Linked DNA regions of Homo sapiens: region 2 is linked to region 1. The links are contacts of gene promoters, found by promoter capture Hi-C in blood cells and fetal thymus (Javierre and others, 2016). All regions are on one chromosome and are shown on one strand. The core of a region is centred on a gene start or on the middle of the fragment in contact, and the rest is flanking DNA. Distances in the headings are between cores, read along the strand shown. Region 1 holds the start of RBMX2 (RNA binding motif protein X-linked 2). Region 2 has its middle 5.2 kb from the start of ENOX2.

What was found. The method cuts DNA at HindIII sites, captures the fragments that hold promoters and counts their contacts. A CHiCAGO score of 5 or more calls a contact.
Region 2: a fragment that was not itself captured here is called in contact with the fragment with the promoter of RBMX2 in region 1 in 5 of 17 cell types (M1 macrophages, endothelial precursors, erythroblasts and 2 more); the score reaches 9.0 in M1 macrophages.

What each region holds. Positions count from the first base shown.
Region 1 is chrX:130,399,414-130,403,535 of GRCh38, reverse strand. RBMX2 (RNA binding motif protein X-linked 2) reads right to left here and starts at 1,549. Exons shown (of 6, transcript NM_016024.4): 1 at 1,499-1,549; 2 at 1,166-1,281. The coding sequence starts at 1,503. The HindIII fragment of the contact is 29,468 bases long and covers 1-4,122 here.
Region 2 is chrX:130,906,334-130,910,486 of GRCh38, reverse strand. No RefSeq gene overlaps it. Among named protein-coding and RNA genes, the nearest start is that of ENOX2, 5.2 kb to the right of the region's middle. The HindIII fragment of the contact is 1,174 bases long and covers 2,168-3,341 here.

The DNA.
Region 1 (4,122 bases), core at 300-2,799:
TCAGCCAGGTGAGGTGGCGGGCACCTGTAATCCCAGCTACTCAGGAGGCTGAAGCAGGAGACTCGCTTGAACCCAGGAGGCAGAGGTTGTAGTGCGCCGAGATCGTGCCATTGCACTCCAGCCTGGGCGACAAGAGTGAAACTCCAGCTCAAAAAAAAGAAAGAAAGAAAGAAATTAAGTCTGACTCAATGACAGAAGTACATGTAAGGTGCCAGTAGTACAGAAAAAGGAGTAATTAATTTTGAGTGGAAGTCGGGGTCACCACTAACGAAACTAATCTGATCACTCAGTCCTCCTGCCACCCAAAATCCTATGGACAAAGCAGATAGTTTCCATCACAAACCTCTGCTTCCACAAACATGTTGAATTCATCTGCTCATTACCCACAAATTTACAGCTATGATACAAAATCAGTCTACATATGTCATGATTAACCCCACCTACACATAGACAAAGGTTATAAAGACACTGTTAAGCATTTCCTAGGGAATAATTTCCCCTCCAAATATTTATTTCCTCATTTGTAAGATGGGGATATTAGCACGTAACTCGCAAGATTATTATAAGAGTTAAATAAAACGATGTATATAAAGTGCTTAGCACAATGTTTGGTACAATAACCTCTTTGAAGCATCAAACTTGTACAATTACTGATTGTGATATAAAGTGAATACAGTAATGGTAACGTGGCCATGGACTAGAAAGCAGGAGCTAGAGGAGCAAAGTGAATTCTGGAAGGGAAGGGGAATGGGGGAGGGTGGTGGTAGCAATATGGAGCTGTGGCTAAGACCAAGAGTTCTAGAATGCTATAGTTCTGCCTGTTGCGCTTACTAGCTATGTGACCTTAAGGAAGTCCCTTAACTTCTCTGCACCCCAATTTCCTCAGCAGTATAATGGGTCAGAGGGTGAGAGAGAAATAACAACAGTCCCTGAACCTTAGCACAGCAAATGGCAAACAGTAACTCTCATGAGCACTGATTTGGCAGGGAAGGAAAACTAAAAATGGGGCAGAAAAGAGATGTAACACGGATTCCCGGGCAGACAGCAGATGGATATGAAGGTGGGCGATGAATGTAAGCAGGAGTGAAGGGTGAAAATGCCGAAATAGTCGGAAACCGAGCAGGAGAATCTGGAGAGCACTGAGGAAGAAAGATGTGGACCTCACCCAGGAAGATCCAGGCGCTGTCCTTGTACTCGGAGTGCCAGGACACCTTATCGGCCACCCCAAGCTGGACCTCTCGTTCATTCAGCTCGTTGATCAGCTTCACCTTAGTTAAAGGGCTTCACGGTGGCGGGGGGGGTGGGGAGGGTAGGCAGAAAAGCAGACAAGTAAGTGCGAACCGGCCGGAGCTGAGGAAGAGCAAAACTAGGGGACGAGCTGTTCCAGTCCCCGCGCCGCTCCCGCCCCTCGGCCCCGCAGACGCTCTACCACACCAGTCCCGGTGGACCACCCCCAGTGGCCCGCTGCTCCTTCCTCAAAAGGAAGCTGACGCCTTACTTCATCTCCTCGGGTTCGCGCTCAGCACTCAGGAATCAGCGCCCGGGAAAGGCAGCGCAGCGCATGCGCGGCCCCGGCGCCAGTGGCCAGTCGATTCGGTGACCTCGCGCCGGAAGAGCCGGGGCGTACCGGGGCGTGGCGCCTGCGCACTAGCAGCCTTCCGCGCTGCGTGCGGTTACCTCTTGGAGAGGTGGTTTTTCTCTAGTTTTTCGCTTTTTCTTCTCTGTGAAATGGGGTAAAGGCACAAGCCTGGGCTGTTGCAGGACCCCCACCTCTTGAACGATATCTGAAACTGGTTAGATTAGCTATAAATATTTGCTGAGTGAACGGAACAAGCAGCCTGATGTGGCGACTTTAGTCTCAGCCCTCGCTCCCAGTCCAGAGTCCCACTTGGACCTTCGCTCCTAGTCAGTTGCTAAAGCACAGACCCATCAAAGCATCCCTGTCATGGCAGAAAAGTGAAGAAGATAGGTGAAAAGGTAAATCTTCTGTTGTCCTTATCCCAATACATAGGCAACAGACCAGTGTGCTTCTATAGGCTGAATCGAATACCTACACATTTGCATGAGAACTGCTGCACTTACTCTTTTCCATAGGCTCTCTCCTAGTTGAGCAGGAGGCAGAAATTAATATTGTTAAATTAATAGCTAACAATTGAGCAGATGATGTACTATACGATGCTAGAGTATGTACTAAGCAATTTACATGTATTGTCTCTCCACCCTCACAACAACCCAATAAAGCAGAGAAAATTACAATCCCTAGCCGGGCACAGCAGCTCAGCCTGTAATCCCAGCACTTTGGGAAGCTGAGGTAGGAGGATTGCTTGAGCTCAGGAGTTCGAGACCATCCTGGGCAACATAGCAAGACCCTGTCTCTAAAATAAAGGGAAAAAAAGGGGGGCCAAGTGTGGTGGCTCATGCCTGTCATCCCAACACTTTGGGAGGCTAAGACGGGTGGATCACCTGAAGTCGGGAGTTCAAGACCAGCCTGGCCAAGATGGTGAAACTCTGTCTCTACTAAAAATACAAAAATTAGCCAGGCATGGTGTCACACGCCTGTAATCTCAGCTACTCAGGGGGCTGAGGCAGGAGAATCACTTGAACCTGGGAGGCAGAGATTGCAGTGAGCTGAGATCGCACCACTGCACTCTAGCCTGGGCAGCAGAGTGAGACTCCTTTTTATTTAAAAAAAAAAAGAAAGAAAAGAAAAAAAATTTCCACCCTCATTTTGTAGAGGAAGAAATGAGGCTCAAAGGAATAAATTAACTTGAAAGGTACTCTACCTGCACCCGTCAGGTCAGGTTGATTTAATCAGTCCTTACTGAACATCTAGATTTGTCCTGTACAGCTAAGGTCTGTAGACAGGAGTATCAGGGTGGGTCCTCTGCCTTCAAGGAGCTAATATTATAATTAAGGGGACAAGATATATTTGCTTGATAGATTTCAACCAGAAATATCTAGAAACCAGTGGAAGAGATTATTAATGTATAATATGTGATTTAACCCATATTGACAGTTTGAATCCATTTTGCATGTGTCCACATCAATACCTGCTCTTGGACTATGATGTTCTAAAAGTGAAAGTCCAGAGCTGTGCGGCCTAACTCAGAGCACCAGATATTAGGTCCTTCATAAAAGCATTTTGATGATGATAACAACTGTACCCTCAAGTGGCCCACCATGTAACCAATGTCCTGCCAAGAAGGAGAACAGAGGCTGCCCACCAATGACAGTTCCTCCTCATTCATTCTGTGTCTGTTCCCCCCTCCCCATTCCAACCCAGCTATTCATTAACTTTGTAAAATTATCTTGGCAATGAAAGCTAAACAGTGACAGATTGCACATGGGGTTTATCTGCTCCTAGGAATCTCAGGTTGCTTAGTTGTGGGTTGAAGTAGCCATTGCAGAGTGGTAAACTAGCATGCAGCATTATCTTGCTGACTTCTTCAAATGGCTGTGAAATGAGAGAGTTAAGACTATACCTGGGGATTAGTCATCAGTGTTCCGAGAGAAGCTGGAGCAAAAGAGTAGAATAAGACCAATTTAGATTGAGAACATGAGAAGGCTATTATTACTATGCAGCTGGTAGGTTCAGCAGAGGTATTCTGAAGGTGAGAGAGCTGAATATTGCTCCAGTTTTCCTGGAACTGAGAGGTTTCTGAGACTTCTGACTTTTGGAGCTAAAATTGGCAACCCCAGAACAAACCATGATGGTTGATCACCCTAGGAGATCCTGAAGTAAATAACGAAGCAAGGAAGTCGGATTTTCCATAGATGTACTTGCATTTGGCAGGAATTGGTAGGTAAGATGATGCCTAGAGATACCCGTAAGTCTGAGTTGAAAAGAGGTGGGGATGCAGAGGACCCTCTGAATCTAACATCTGAAAGTAGAACGAGGGTTTGGCATCCAAGGTGGCTATAAGTGATCTCCACCAATAGCATCCATTTAGAAAATATTCTATGCAGTATTTAGTTCTAGCTTCTGAGGGTAATGCTAAGGTAGTCAAAGGCAGTCCCCACATTCAAGGAAAGGCTGAACTATCTAGCCAGAGTCATCTCCCAACTTCCCACCACCACACCACACCCCCAAACAGTTTTTCCTCCAGACTTCCCTATTTTGGG
Region 2 (4,153 bases), core at 1,505-4,004, 510 kb before region 1:
TCCTTTCTTCTCAATCTCATGTGCTTGCCCTGTCCTTCTTAAGCAAAAATTCTGAGACACCAAGGACATTGCTGGTCCTGATTCAGTAAACGGCCTCTCTTTATGGTTTCTTCCCTGCATCATTCCTACCATTTCACTTGTATGAATCCACTTTTTTAACCTTTTATGACAACTTTATTGATGTATAATTACCAATCACTATCACCACAGGCTGAGCAAACAGTCTCTTAAGCTTGGTCACAGAGCAAGCTGCCAACACTGAATGCAGATCCTGTGTTTAACCCTGACCACCAGCCAAACACCTAACCCAAGACATAGCCTAAACTCCTAACTCTGAACTTGGAGGCTTAACTCCAATTTCACACCAAGCCTTTAACCCTGGCCACAAATGAAGACCCTAATTCTATCCACAAACTGAGCCACTTTCTGGCCACACTCCAAGGTCTTAATCCTGATTAAATCAAGTCCCTAGGCCTAGTTACATACTGACTGTCTACATCTGGCCCAAGAGTAAGTACTTAAGACTGGTCCCAACCTGAATCTCTAACCCTGATCCCCTATTGAACCATAACTATGGCTACTGTATAAGTCCTTAATTCACGATACAGGGATCAAAAATAACATCAGATATAGCCCCTAAGTCTGTCCCCAGGCTGAGTCTCTAAACTAGGCTACAGACTGCATGACCTAACTCTGGGATATACTTAACATCCTGAACTGACCACAAAATGAGTGCTCAGCATAGATACTAACTGAGCTCTAGCCCTGACTACAGACTGAGGCTCTAACTTGGTCACAGCCTGAGATCTGATCTTGGAAACCAACCCAGCTACAATTTCCCAGACTTAGCACTAACCAGAAAATGACCCCAACATTGGCAACAGAATGACTACTAAACTTGGCCTCATACAGAGACGAAAACATGTACAGAGACCAGACTCTAAACTTGTCCCAACTCTGTGCCTTAATCATGGCCAAGAAGTGAAACCAAATCTTCCACAAAACTTGAGAATATTTTGACCACAGCATATGTCCTAATCCTGACTATAGACAGAACCCTGAACATGGCCACAAACTGAGTCTTAACCATGTTCAAAGCCCAAGTTCTAAACCTGGACAGAGACTGGGTTCATAAATCTGATCAGGAAATAATCTACTGATCCTGGGACAGACTGAGCCCTATCACTGGCCACTGATTTGACCCCTAAACCTTACAGCTTCTAACTGGTTACAGACTGCATCTCTAACTCTAGCCATAGACTGAATTCCTAACTCTCATCACAGACTGAGCCCATAAGCCTAACCTCTGACATGAGCTTTCAACCTGAAAATAAATCTGATTTCTCCAAATGGCTAATGACTGATCCTGAATTTTTGAGATAGACTGAACCCTATCTCTGGCTAAATGTTCACCCGAGACTGGATCCCAATTTCAACCACAACTTTAACTTTAACCCTGGCTACCGACTGATTCCTAATACCAGAAATTAAGCTGCTCACCAGCACTGGGCAGAGACTGAACCCAAACCTTGAAGATGAATGAAGGACAAACTAGACAAAGACAAAACAAATACTTTTCATTTTCTTGGCCTAAAACCCTGCAACAGATTTAATTCTAACCCTGAGCACAGACGGAACTCACCATGGCTAAGATCTGAGCCCTCTTCCTGGCCACATTCTGAATACTGAGCTGGGATGAAGACTGTAAGTCCCACCACAGTCTGAGACCTAAAGGCCAAGCCCTAAGCCTGGTTAGAGAAATGATTCCTGACCCTACAAGACTAAATCAAAATCCTGCTCATATTATCAGATCTAACAACAGGCTGAGACTAAGTACTCACCTTTGTCACATATCAAGTCTTAAACCCATAAACAAAGTTCACTGTATTAGTGGCCACAAACTGAGTCCTAGCACTAGCTGGAGGTTGAGCAATCAGTCTGGTCACAAACTTAGTCCTCAATTGTGAATAGATGTACCCATGGCACTGGGCACATTATGGTCACTAACAATTAGCAAAGACTGAACTCTACTACTGATACCGAAATGCCTGCTACACTAAGCCAGAGTCTAAGTGCCAGACTGACAACAGGCAATGAACACTCTGAACTCAAACCCTGGCAACATCCTGATCCCAAAACCCTGATTACAGCCTGAGCCTCTAAAGCTTTCAATCTGGATTTTATGTGTTGTTTGTTCTCATCTCAACTCTATCCACTGACTGACAAATAACATCAACAGCTAATCCAAAAAACCTGTTTACACTCTTAGCCTTAAAACCTTCTTCATAGTAAGCCTTACCTTGGTTATTGGTAACTCCCAAACTCTGGTACAAGTTTAATCAGATAGCACTACCACCAATACTCAGTGAACACAAATGCTACATAAAGTCATAGTGGAATTACTCCCTCCAGACTCAACTCTGATAGTGGTCAAATTGAAATGGCTAATACAGGTCACCGACTGAGCCCTGCTCTGGCCACAGAATGAGGGCCAACACAGGCCACTGTGAGTTAGCTCCATAGAACATTGTTGATATGAGCTATGGACAAAGACAGAATCCTGACACTGGCTAAAGTCAGAAACCACACCTTGAACTTACTCTAGCCAAATATGCATCCCAAATCCTGTTCATATTCATCATTGAAATCCTGGCCACAAACTGTATCATAATTTTGTCCATATATGAAATGCTAACTCTGGTTTGAGACAAGGCTCTAGGGCACATGACAGGTAATGTCCTAACATGGCAACAGACTGAATATTAGACATTGACTGTGCCTTACCATTGGCCACGGACTGAGACTTAATTATTGGACCCAGAATAAACTCTAACCATGAATACGAATTGAAACTTAACCTGAAGAAAGACTGAACATAAATCCTGTTCATATTCTTACTTCATTTTTTCCTAGGCAACATCATCAGCATGAAGACTAATCCCAGGCAGAGCCATGGTCCTGGCCTTTATTGACTTTCAAGTCTAGAAATGAAAGTGATTCCAACATTGATCAAAAACTAAAGTCAAACATTGAGCTGAGCCCTAACCTTGGGTGTGGTCTAAGTCTGGTCCACAGACTGAGCCCTAACTCTAATTTTAGAATGAGGCCTCTTCCTACACACAGACTAAATCCTAATTCTGGCCAAAATTTGAACCCAAATCTTGCACCTTGACTTCATAAACCAGGCCACTCTAGACTTACAGCAGCCTCAGAGTGAGCTTTAACACCCTGAGGCTGCTGTTAGTCCAGAGTGGTCAGAAATGCACTTTAATCTGTGACACAGACTGAACCATGGCTCTAAATCTGGGGCCTAATATTGCTATCAGGCTTAACCCTAAGCTTGGTTTGATGGTCTTCTGATCCTGAATCCACAATGGCCTGTAAAAACAGCTACAGACTTACTAAATCTTAACCTGAGAAAAGATTGAAGCTAAATACATTCCACATTATACACATGAACCCTGGCCTTGACCTGGGCTCTACACTGGCTCTGGATACAGCTCTAACCTTGACTTCCTAATTGTTCTCTGAATCCAGCCAGACTGTTTGACCCTGGGCCAGTATTTCACAAATTCATCTTATTATATAACAACAGACCAAAGAGTATCACGTTTGTATATACACATACAAATATATGTATACATTTGTGCTTATATATAATATATATTATATATAAAATTTCTGTATGGCTTATTGGAGATATAGATATGTTTTATATATTATATATAAAATTTCCATATGGCTTATTGGAGATATATATATGTGTGTGTGTGTGTATTTATATCACCATACAGAAATAGCCATACACAGCTGTGACATACACAGTAAGAAATATTACTTATCACAGCTATGTATTTTAATTATTTATCTTGTTTGTTGATGGCTTCTTCCTAACAGAATATAGCCTCCAAAGGGAAGGGATGTTGTATGTGTTTTCCACTTCTCTATTCCCAGCATCTAGAATAATGTCTGGCACATTATAGGTACTCAATAAAAACTTGTTATATTGATGAAGGAGTAATTTCTTCTTACTATTCTGTCCTGCTACTTGACCTCTCTGTAATATATGCCAGTAATTCTACTTTGTTTTCTCTTGGTTCATCTGTTTGGGCATTCCCTCTCAGCTTCCTTGGAAGGCATCTCTTCTTCTACT